2 separate regions of the Homo sapiens genome follow, and region 1 is linked to region 2. Evidence: promoter capture Hi-C in 16 types of primary human blood cells and fetal thymus (Javierre and others, 2016). All regions are on one chromosome and are shown on one strand. Each heading gives the region's core, a stretch centred on a gene start or on the middle of the fragment in contact. The rest is flanking DNA. Distances are from core to core; before and after follow the strand shown. Region 1 overlaps RAB3IL1 (RAB3A interacting protein like 1). Region 2 holds the start of BEST1 (bestrophin 1).

Region 1 (6,081 bases), core at 238-2,737, 39 kb before region 2:
TCAACAGCAGCTGGGTGCAGTGGCTCACGCCTGTAATCCCAGCACTTTGGGAGGCTGAGGCAGGTGGATCACCTGAGGTCAAGAGTTCGAGACCAGCCTGGTCAACATGGTGAAACCCCATCTCTGCTAAAAATACAAAAATTAGCCGGGCCAAGATTGTGCCACTGCACTCCAGCCTGGGTGACAGAGCGAAACTCTGTCTCAAAACAAACAAACAAACATAAAACTCTCTCAACAGCACTCGTGGTATTGTCCCATTCTACAGATGAGGGGACGGAGGCTCACAGAGTGAAGGGACTTGTCAGGGGTCACGCAGCTGGTCAGTGACAGTGCTGGGACAGGTGGCCAGGTCTTCAAGCCCAGGCCCAAAGCTTCCCCGCTGCAGGGGAAGGGCAGGTGGGTGCGGAGTGTGAGTGTTGGAATCGGCGCATCTGCTTCAAGATAAAGCGCTGCTGGGCCCAGGGAGACTCGGAGGCTCCTCTTTGGCTGCAGTAGGGAAATCTGACCCAATTCTGGCCCGAACTGGCTTCTCAGACTCTGCGCAGGCCCAGAAACCCCCTTTCCAGAAGGCAGGGCCTGGGCAGGGGGAGCTGTGGCAGAGAGAACAGGCCAGATGGGGCAAGCCTGGGGTCCATGTCAGCCTCTGACCTGGGGTACACATGAGCCCCTGAGAATGCTACTGAAATTTTCTGAACCTGCTTCTGCACCTGAGGGATAGGAGCTGAAATCCTGCAGGAGGTGCTCTAAGAATCAAGAGCTCTAAGAGCAGTCCTGACCTGGTGCTGGGTGAATCATGTTCAATCCACAGCCATGTTTGGCTGAGACACTCACGAAGCCTGCCTGGGCTCTGGGTCCCACAGCTTAAACTGGAGGCCTGTGGACCCTTGCCAAGAAGACTTCCCCGAACAAGGGTATTGAGAGCCCTGTCTGGCACAGACACTGTTGATGGAGTGATGGATATGTGTCCCCACCTTAATCATCATGGCCCAAGTCCTCAGGTAGGACAGGATGGCCATAGTCACTCAGGCTGGGCTGGGGGCTGCTCACTGCAGGCCAAGGGCAAGAGGTGACAGCACAGGACAGGACAGAGGACTCTTGCAATTGCCTATGCCCTGACCGAGGAGAACCAGGCTGCCGGCCCTCCCATGGGGGCCGAGCTTCATCCACCAGTGTGGTCTGGGCCTCTGGCCACAGTGAAAGACTAACTCTCTCTCCTGCTGGTCCCAAGCACATAGGCTGGAGGTGTGGCTGGCTGACCTCACCATTTTCCCAACAGGCTCTCATTTTTGCCTTGTGGGGCAGAGTGGGGACAGGGCCCAATTTTGTAGCCAGAGGAAACAGTGGTCCAGGAGGCCTGTGACAGAGTCTGTGACATCCTTCCCATCACCCCCAGTAGAAGAGCCCAAGGCCAAATCCCAATGGCAAGAAGTGTGGGAACATGGGAACAGTGGGACCACCCAGTAGCCACCAACTCCCCAACGCCAAAGGTGGCAGGAGCAGGAGGGAAGAAGGGCCTGACCTGCCCTTGGAGGGTAGCCAGAATCTGCAGACCCTCTTCCTCCTCATTTCCAGGCTGCAAGGCCAACTCCTGAGACTCAGAAATTTCAAAGAAGGGACCCTGGGCTCCTCGGGTCCAGCCCAAGCCAGAATCTCCAATCTCACACACACTTTAGCCTCCCAGACCAGAGGCCTGAAAACCTGGCTGTGAACACCCAAGTCAGTGGTGAACTCAGTCGTGGGGCAAGCAGGGACCACTTAATGTTCTGCTGCCCAGCGTCCCTACCCTCCTCAGTCCGGGTCCACCGCTCTCTGTACAAACCTCCTCAGTCCCCGTTCCCTGCAGAAACAGAGCCCAGCATCTGAGATGAGCCACAGATGCCTCTGGAAAGGAGCCTGTTCAGAGGGTAGGAGTCAAGGTCAGAGGTAGATGGGGCACCCAGCCAACATCCCCCATCCCAAAGCCAGCTCCCACTGCCGAGAGGCCCAGGCAGTTCATACAGGAAAGGCCCCACGGGTCACTTCCCCAGGAAACACACAACCAAAAGAAAATGCAGTAACCACAATCCTCACCCCACCAGGCCCACCCTAGGAGGGCCAGCAGGGCTCTTGCCCCGACCCACAAAATAAGAAGGAGACCTAGACTCCGTGGCCCTCGGTCTCTCAGTGTCCCCAAGCCAGCAGGGCCTGGCCAGTGGCCAGACCAGCCTATTCCTCAACCAGTGCCCAAGATGACCCTGTCCAGTTACCTCCTGGAACTAAAGACCCCTGTTGGTCATGGGCACAATGGATTCATTCAATAAGCAGGGGAGGGGACAGCAAGGGTGGTTCTGAAACTGGACGAAGGAGACGGCTGGGAGGGCACACTGGGACCACTCAGCGGGCTGCCAGGGCCCAGGCCTCTAGGGAGGCTGCAGAAACCCCGACCCAGGGCCTGGCTCCCCGGGGCGGTGCCTTGGCACAGGGGCCTGTTCAGATTCACGCTCAGCCTTTGCGGTGACACTGAGGGGACGGAGGCTCACAGCCATGTGATTAACATCCAGGGACCAAGGGAGTCCCAGGAAAGGGTTGGTGGGCCAGCTCTCAGGCCAGCCTGCAAGCCCAGCAAAGCTTGGCTCCCCTAGAGAGCGGCCAAGTCTTCAGCCCCAAACCCACAAGCATGTCAGGTTCCCAAGCGCTAGGCCACATCCACGCCAGCCCACCACTCCACAGGTGTCATGGCCTGGAAGCTCGGGACAATTGCAGGGAGATGCGCTCCTCCACCTGGTTTCCAGATGAGGCCCCTGAGGTTCAGAGAGGGATGGTGACCTGGCCAGAATGCACAGCAAGGAAGTGGCAGGATGGGAACTGAATGCAGAGTACAGGCATAGCGTATCACGTGGCCTGTCACCCAGAGGAAAGGGGATGAATGGCGGTTTTGGAGAAGTGAGGCAAGAGGCAGATGGGGTTTGAGGAAGTCTGAGACAGCGCCCAAGTACTGGAGGTGCCACCCAAGAATGCTGTACAGCCAGGCAGGACCTGGGCTAAGAGGGGACAGCAGAGGGGACACACAGAAACAAAGATGGGAAGGGGGAATTGTGGGAGGAACAGGGGCTGGATGGGGGGGCAGGAAAAAGCAATAACAATAATTAAGATAATTCAAAACTAAGGAAAAGGTGAAAGCTGAGAACAGCGGTACCCATGCTGGGAGTGAGGAACTGGGAGGGGGTCTTTCAGGGACAGGAAAGTGGGTGGCTGAGGCATCTGGGAAGTGGCACGTCCCGTAGGCAGCTGAGGGGGAATAGGCAGGATGGGGTGACGCTGTCGAGTGGCACTGGTTTCGGGGAGCAGCTGCAGCCTGAGCCTGGATGAGGGGCTGTCAGGGAGGACAAGGGCTTGAGAGCCAGAAAGGACGAGAGTGTTGGACACCAGAGCCGAAGAGTGTCTGGGACCCGGGGATGAAAGAGATCGTCATGAGTCTCACTGAATTGGGCCAGGAACCAATGAGCTCAAGTCAAGGAGGGGACAAAGGGACAGGTGGGAACCAAGGTGGGCCTGGGCCACAGGGGAAGGGGAGCCAGAGTAGGGAGAAGGGCACAACAGCATGTCCTAGTAGAGACCATGGAGGAGGAGTGGGGGAGAAGGTCAGGAACAGCTGGGGATGGGAAGCAGATCAGAACACCTAAAGCAGGTGAGTCAGGCCACGCCTCCGCCGGCCATAGCCCCAGGCCACCAGGCCAGTCCAGCCCACCCCTGGCGGGGGAATCCAGCCCTGTCTCTCCATGGGAGCCAGCACAGGGCCTAGGAGGGGGCGCATCTCACTACTCTTCTACAGGGCTGGGCACGCAGTACATCCTCAAATGCGCCTGTGGCGACCCTGCCCATTCAGTCCAAGAATTGACACCGAAGACCTCCAATAGCTAGTGTGTATACTGAGCACCCATTATGTGCCAGGCACCCCACCAGCCATGATCCATCCAATCTGCACGACCAGGCAGCCCCCTTCTTACCATATCCTATTTTGATTTGCATCTCCCTCCCGCTACCTCATTTCCAAAGACCTATTGGGCATAAATCATGTGCAGAGCTCGGAGGGTCTAGGACAAGCAGGATTCTAATGAGGATGTCTGCCCCCAACACCCATGTCCTGATTAAGGAACAGCAGGAAAGATCTCCACCTGTTGAGGGGTAGAGTAGGCAGTTAGATCACGGAGGGCTTCCAGGGAGCAGCAACAGTGAGGGTTATACAACCCCTTCCCAATGAAGAGGCCTGTGTGCCTGACCTGGAGCCCTCGGGCCATACTTCAGACTCTTGTCTCACGGCCTCTAGTCCCCTGTGACTTGGGCCTTACAGGCAGGAGCCCACAGATCCATGCCCTTAGAATAGCCAAGGCCCAGGGCAGTGAAGTGACTTGCTCAGGATCACACAGCCAGTTGATGGCCCCTACAGCCCTGCCTGCCGCAAAAACATGCTCCCCAACCCCTGGGAGGTTGGAGTGGTCTCATCTCATTCCTGGGCCATCCATCAATGCCTGGCCCTCTCTAGCCATAGGTATGATGAGCCCCGTCTCTGGGGAAACTGAGACCAGGGGGCTGGAACAGTGTCATGCAGAAACTTGAACGCTGGCTTCTGCTGACCAAGTCCCAAGTGTCCAGCACCATGTTAGATACAGAAGTACTCAAGACGCTGTCCTCACCTCGTCACCTTGGAGCAGGCTTGGCACCCAAAACTATGAATGTGTGAAACTGTGGGGAATCGGAAGGGGGACAACCCAGTTTGGAGGGGCACCTAAAGTCAGACTGGAGCTGCCTCTGGGTTTGGAGTTCAGGGCCCATGCTCAGGAGTCCCAAAGAAGAGGACCCACCCAGGCTGTGGCAGAGTCCAGCCACTGCCGCCCACCCCAGAAGAGTAGCCCAGGGCTGGAGCCATGACCAGGACCTGGCCATTAACAAAGCACAGCCACCAAGAGAAAGATCTCAGTTCATTTCACAGGTGAGGAAACGAAGCCCAGAAACATCACTGGCCCCGCTGGGGTCACCAACTCCTAATCCCAGCTCCTCCTGTTCTAGGATCAACAGTCCCAAATATACACCTGCCAGAGCTGTCATCAGACTTGGTCAGAGTAACCTGGCAAGTATGACTCTGAACAGGACACCTCCCAACTGCTGCTGGGGTCTGGGTGAGCTCCTAGGACACCAGGCACCCAGTGGGGGCTAGCAGCTTGGCCCCTGACTCTAAATCCCTGTTTCCTCACCCAAATGGGGGGCCATAAAAATACAGAGCTCAAGGTAACCCCCAAGCTCTGCCTCACCCCTTCCGCCAGCTTCTCACTGCCCCTCATCCTTTCCATCTGCATTTATGAAGCACCCATTATGATATGAGCTCAGCACCCAGCTAGGCCCCTGGGGGTGCAGGGGTGCATGCAGGAAGTGAGCCATACTGAGGATTCTGTGGGGGTCAGCCTGGCAGCTGGCTCATCCAGAGTGTTGCTGGGAATATGGCAGGGGGGCTGGATGGTGGGGAGGGGTCCCTGCCCAGGATATAAGGCTCTCTGACTCTCCTTGAAGCAACCATCCATCTACTGGTGGCTCTCAGCTGTGTCTGGCCTTGGCCTGGGTGCCTCCAGGGAAGGACATTCTCTGACCTGCGATCACTCCCACCCCAGAAACCATTTATTTTACCTAGAGGCCCAGAGAAGGAAGTCCACACTCTCAAGGTCACACAGCAACTAACTCAGGGGCTGTGTTGCCTGAGTCCACCCAGCCGGCACAAGACACAGGCTTCCGGCAGACGAGGCTGCTCCCCAAACACAATTCACCCCGGGCAGGACTGCCCTAACCTCTCCAGGTACCACAAACCCACCTCAAGCACTTTCTCCTAAGCCAGCCTCCTTCCTCCAAGCACAATGCCAACAAATACACTAGTGGCCTTCAACTCTCTCCCTTTAAGAGTCTCAAGCCCAGGCCGGGTGCAGTGGCTCACACCTGTAATCCCAGCACTTTGGGAGGCTGAGGCGGGCGGATCACAAGGTCAGGAGATCGAGACCATCCTTGCTAACATGGTGAAACCCTGTCTCTACTAAAAACACAAAAAAATTAGCTGGG
Region 2 (6,213 bases), core at 3,623-6,122:
CTTCAGGCAAGTCATTTTCCTTCTCTGTGCCTCAGTTTCTTTGTCTGCAAAATGAGCAGCTGGACTAGAAACTTACCATTCTTTCACAGCACGTCAAACTCAACATGCCCATTTGAGCTGAAGACACTGAGGCTACTCACTGGGTGTGAACCTTTGACAGCATCCAGGCCCTGCACAGTTGTCTAGGAGAAGCCTGACCCATGATGTCCTTTCCGCTACCCACCTGCCACGAGCCCCAGTTCTGAGCTGGAGGGGTGGGGGTGGGTGGAAGGTGGATAGTGGTCAGTGCCTCACCTGGCCGACTGCAGCCTGGCAGAGTCCATGGGGGACCTCGCAGCACAGTGGATCCTCTTGCCTTGTGTCTCTAGTTGGTCCAGCTCTGGTCTATTCCATGCTATTCCGTTGTCATGGGCAGGACTGGGTTTGATGAAGTTGGACCTAGGTGTATCCCAGCCTCTCCTGGTTTCTGTCGTCTTTCTGTGGTGCCCAGGGCTTATGTTTCTATCTCTTTGAATGTTGAGTTTACTCCGTCCTTCAGGGATCAGGGCTGCCTGAGCTCAGGGTGGAGGTGCTGTTGTCTGTCTGGCTTCCGGGCCCTGGACTGGCAGTGTCCCCCAGCACCCCTGTCCAGCTATGCCAAGCCCCCTCCTTTTCTTTCTTGGCCTCTGCCCTATTTGTTCTGTGACTGGCCCAAGAGAGGGGTGTGGGCTGGCAGGTGTCCCACATAAAGCCTGGAGGCAGCATCCAGGCCTGGCTGACTTACCCCGGGGCCCCCTGCCTACTGCCCCCAGCCAAGCTGGGTCTCCTTCTTCCTGCCCAGCTGAGGCAGGGCCTAGAAGGGCACCGAGGCAGGCCCTCTGTGATGCTCCTGTTGCTATGGTAATTCTAGATGAGAAGGCCATAGCATTCTGTGTCTGGCACCCCCGCGCATCTCCCCAGCTCTGCCCTGCTGCCCCAAGAGATGGCTCTCTGCTGGGGAGCTCGAGAGCTTGGAATCTGCTGCAGTCAAAGTTTCTTCCATGCGGCCAGGCACAGTGGCTCATGCCTGCAATCCTAGCACTTTGGGAGGCCGAGGCGGGTGAATTACTTGAGGTCAGGAGTTCAAGACCAACCTGGCCAACATGGTGAAACCCCATCTCTACTAAAAATACAATACTTAGCCGGAAATCACTTGAACCCAGGAGGCAGATGTTGCAGTGAGCCAAGATCATGCCACTGCACTCCAGCCTGGGTAACAAAGCGAGACTCCGTCTCAAAAAAAAAAAAAAAGTATCTTTCATGCAGGCCCCATCCTTTGGACCTCCCTTCAACCCCAAGAGAGACCACTACCCTAGCAGGTAAGACTCTACCTCTCAGAAACTGACCTTTACTGTAGAGCTGATAGTGGGAAAGGGCTCAGGATCCAAAATCAAAAGACCTAGATCCTAGTCTCAAGCCATTTATAGCTGTGTGACCTTGGACAAGGCAGGCCTTGAGCTTCAGTGTCCTCCTTTGTAAAATGTGGATAAACATGCGATACTGAATCATCCTTCAGGAATAGCTCTATGACTTTCCGTAGGTTGTTCCCCTGATGTGTAATGCTCTTCCATTCTTCTCAGCTCCATGAACTCCTACTCATGCTTCAAGACCCAACCGAAATGCCCCATTGTCTGTAAAAATTTCCCTGACCTCTGTGCACTTGGCACAGATCTTAGGCCTTGCCATTCTGTGTTAGAGTTGTTATTTAAGTGTTTCCAAATTTTTTGACTATGAATACGTACAGGCAGGAATCAGATTAGGCTCAGTTCTGGAAGGAGAAATGGTTTGGCGAATATTTTCTTTGCGGAACGGAAAGCAGAAGAGGGCGACCTTGACTGGGTTGGGTGCCATCTCTGCAGGGGTCAATCCTGGGACTCTTGTTCCAGGCATGGCTTGGGTCAATCAGCACTCATGACTTTGCTGTGTGCCTGAGCCGTGCCTGGCTAACTGGGGACATTTTCATAGCTGAGACCCAGTAGGAGAGACCATGACTTGTGCCAGGGTGTGCCTGTCTCAGCTCTGGGGCAGGGCCAGGAGCAGCTGCTCATGGGATGTCTCTGGGGACATGCTGGGGCCTCTGGGAGGGGAAGGGAGACTGGCCATGCACTGTCTATGGTCCTGGTGGTACTCCTGGGATATTGCCAAGGAGCCTGCGGTTCAGGGAACAGGGAGGAGGGACTCTAGTGTCTCCAACTCCCTCTCATGGCTCTATGGCTGCTGGTCGGGGTCAGGGAGATGAAGCAGTGCCAGCTCCGTGGTCTGCACTGATCCTGACCAGTGAACCAGGCTTCCCCAGCCAGAGCCAGCTAGTCAAGCACGCTCTCTAGTGGCCACCACAGGGAAGGCAAGAACTTGTCTCCACAAAGGCAGGATTTTCATTTATTCCTTCAGAGAGTACAGAATGAGCATCAATGTTCCAGGCATGGTGCCAGGCATGTGTGTTAACTTTAGTTAAAACATACTTATTGGCCGAGTGTGGCGGCTCACTCCTGTAATCCCACCACTTTGGGAGGCCTAGGTGGGAGGACTGCTTGAACTTAGAGCTCAATACCAGCCTGGGTAATGTAGTGAGACCCTATCTCTATAAAAAAAAAAAAAATAGCTGGGTGTGGTGGTGTGCGTCTGTAGTCCCAGCGACTTGGGAGGCTGAGATGGGAGGATTGCTTGAGCCTGGGAAGTGGAGGTTGCAATGAGCCAAAATCACACCCATTGCACTCCAGCCTGGGTGACCTTGTCTCAAAAATATAGTTATATATTTACTTATATATTTATATGTATAAATATATGTGTACATACAAATATATTTGTAATATTATAGACATATTAATACATATTTACATATGTTAATATATAAATATATATAATATATATTTATCATCTTCTAAATGGAAAGCTCTTGAGTTTCAGGATGTGTTGGTTGGGAAGGGAATACAGGATAGGGAAATAATCCATTAAGCAATGACTCAGCACAGGCCATAAAATCAGAATCACCTGGAGAACTTGAACAATCCCAACACCTGGGGTCCATCCAGACCAATCAAATCAGAATTCGTAGGGGTCAGGCACAGGCACCAGTGGTTTGGAGAGTTGACGGACACATGTCCCATCCATCATTCTCATTCGGCTGCCAAGGTAGGCATCGTTGTCCCATTTTGCATATGAGGAGACTGAGGCTGAAGTGAACCTGCTTCTTTCCCCATATCAGTTGAGGACAGCGATGGGGCAGCGGGGAGGCAGTAAATACTCCTACAAGGCTGCCTCTAAAGAGAGTCTTATAATAACAACAGCTTTATTGTTTGCCATGATTAGAAAAGTATTCAAGGTCATTGCGAAATAGTGTTTTTTTTTCTAGGCAGATAATTATATAAAGGCAAAAATGGTGTGTGGGGGTGGGGGACAAGGGGAGGGAGAGCATTAGGACAAATACCTAATGCACGCAAGGCTTAAAACCTAGATGATGGGTTGACAGGTGCAGCAAACCACCATGGCACACGTATACCTATGTAACAAACCTGCACATCATGTATACCTATGTAACAAACCTGTACATTCTGCACACGTATCCCAGAACTTAAAGTGAAAAAAAAAGTGGTGTGTAGAAAAATCACCTGCAATCTCAGCATAGTTAACGCTTAGTACATTTCAGAGAGAGAGGGTGACAGGAAAGGGAGGATGAGAGTGGGTTTAAGACACAAGGTCATATTATAAAATCAGGGCTTCTGGAAGTTTAGTCCCAAAACCACACATCTCATAATCCCCTGCAGTGCTTGATTAAAATGCAACATCCCTAAGGCCACAGACTCAGACTCTGGAGAAAGATCCAGAAAACTGCCCGTTTAATAAACATTTGGGCGATTCTTACGGCCTCTAAAGACCAAGAACCACTGCTGCCTAGAGCTCTGCTCTCTTCATTGAACAATACAAGAGGAGTGTGTAGGTAGACACCCACCACTTCCAACAGCTTAGGAGAGCCCTTGAGTATGGATTGATGTATTAAAATTTATTGAATCACATGCTGAGATTTTCACCAGCTGCCCGTGGGGATCTGGGCATTTATTCCCATATTGCACTGGCTGGCTGGAAGCCAGCAGCATAAACTCCAGGGCTGTTCTGTCAACCCCCACCAGACTCACCCCCCTCCACCAGCCCCGGCAGGCTTCTCCTTCCATCTCTCTGAAGCAACTTACTGATGGGCCCTGCCAGCCAATCACAGCCAGAATAACGTATGATGTCACCAGCAGCCAATCAGAGCTCCTCGTCAGCATATGCAGAATTCTGTCATTTTACTAGGGTGATGAAATTCCCAAGCAACACCATCCTTTTCAGATAAGGGCACTGAGGCTGAGAGAGGAGCTGAAACCTACCCGGGGTCACCACACACAGGTGGCAAGGCTGGGACCAGAAACCAGGACTGTTGACTGCAGCCCGGTATTCATTCTTTCCATAGCCCACAGGGCTGTCAAAGACCCCAGGGCCTAGTCAGAGGCTCCTCCTTCCTGGAGAGTTCCTGGCACAGAAGTTGAAGCTCAGCACAGCCCCCTAACCCCCAACTCTCTCTGCAAGGCCTCAGGGGTCAGAACACTGGTGGAGCAGATCCTTTAGCCTCTGGATTTTAGGGCCATGGTAGAGGGGGTGTTGCCCTAAATTCCAGCCCTGGTCTCAGCCCAACACCCTCCAAGAAGAAATTAGAGGGGCCATGGCCAGGCTGTGCTAGCCGTTGCTTCTGAGCAGATTACAAGAAGGGACTAAGACAAGGACTCCTTTGTGGAGGTCCTGGCTTAGGGAGTCAAGTGACGGCGGCTCAGCACTCACGTGGGCAGTGCCAGCCTCTAAGAGTGGGCAGGGGCACTGGCCACAGAGTCCCAGGGAGTCCCACCAGCCTAGTCGCCAGACCTTCTGTGGGATCATCGGACCCACCTGGAACCCCACCTGTGAGTACAAGGTGCCCCAGGTGGACTGGGCTGGGGCTTTGAGGCCTTCAGGGTTGGATGGCCATCTTGCGTATTTGTGTGGGATATGCACACACAGGCAGCACATGCGCAGGTGTGTGGGCACCTGTGTGTCTGTGCAAATGCCCTGAGGTGGGAATGAGCTTGGTGTGCATCAGGCACAGCCAGCCAGTGTGGCTGCAGCAAAACACACAGGGAAAGAATGGAGGGGGCATCAATCACTGCTTCAGTAAATTTTTATTGAGCGCCTTCTACGAGAACACAAGAGGAGCTTCCATTCTGAGGAGGAAACAGGCAGGAAACAGGCAGATATCCTGTATAATTTCAAGTAGTGATAAGTGCTCTCTAGAAATATCAAGCAAGGTGAGGAGACACAGAGCACCGGTGGCAGTGGGGCTCTATTTCCAGGTTGGATGGTTGGGAACATCCTTTCTAAAGGGAACCTGGAGTGGGAAGGAACCATGCAGGTATCTCAGGAAGAGCTTCCTCCAGGCAGGAAGATCAGCAGGTGGAAAGGCCCTGGAGCCACCATTCAGTAAACATCATTTGAGCATCTCTACCAGCTAGGTTCCATTATGGGAATGGGAATATGGTGGTGGACAGGGCTGCCTGGTCCCTTCCATACTTCTCACACTAGGGTGGTTGAGAGAGCTTGGGAGCTAACGAACAAGATGGGCTGAGAACACTGCCTAGCCCAGAGGACCTGAGCTTAGTGTGTAGACATTGCTGCTGTTACTGCCTTTGTCATTGTATTATTTATTTATTTATTTATTTATTTTTAGACAGAGTTTTGCTCTTCTTACCCAGGCTGGAGTGCAATGGCGTGATCTCAGCTCACTGCAACCTCCACCTCCTGGGTTCAAGCGATTCTCCTGCCTCAGCCTCCTGAGTAGCTGGGATTACAGGCACCCGCACCACGCCTGGATAATTTTTTTGTATTTTTAGTAGAGACAGGGTTTCACCATGTTGGCCAGGCTGGTCTCGAACTCCTGACCTTAGGTGATCCACCTGCCTCGACTTCCCAAAGTGCTGGGATTATAGGCATGAGCCACTGCGCCCAGTGATTATAGAAAGTTAAAGGCACATGGCAATGCACACGCCTATCTACGTCTTCCCTGCCAAAGCAAAGGGCAGCCTCTGGGCTCACTTTCTTGCGTTTCTACTTCCAAAAGGCAGTCAGAACTGGCAGGGCCTTGGAGACCACTTCATCCACCTCCTAGGGTCCCTATGGGAGAGTTGAGGTCCA

Evidence for each region. The method cuts DNA at HindIII sites, captures the fragments that hold promoters and counts their contacts. A CHiCAGO score of 5 or more calls a contact.
Region 1: a contact is called between a fragment that was not itself captured here and the fragment with the promoter of BEST1 in region 2, in 8 of 17 cell types (erythroblasts, neutrophils, M1 macrophages and 5 more). The highest score is 9.6, in erythroblasts.

Annotation. Positions count from the first base shown.
Region 1 is chr11:61,909,817-61,915,897 of GRCh38, forward strand. The region is part of intron 1 of RAB3IL1 (RAB3A interacting protein like 1); the gene reads right to left. Among named protein-coding and RNA genes, the nearest start is that of RAB3IL1, 4.7 kb to the right of the region's middle. The HindIII fragment of the contact is 2,236 bases long and covers 370-2,605 here.
Region 2 is chr11:61,945,479-61,951,691 of GRCh38, forward strand. It overlaps BEST1 (bestrophin 1), which reads left to right and starts at 4,873. Exons shown (of 11, transcript NM_004183.4): 1 at 4,873-4,949. It also overlaps a transcript of RAB3IL1 not described here. RefSeq lists a silencer at 571-734. The HindIII fragment of the contact is 17,311 bases long and covers 1-6,213 here.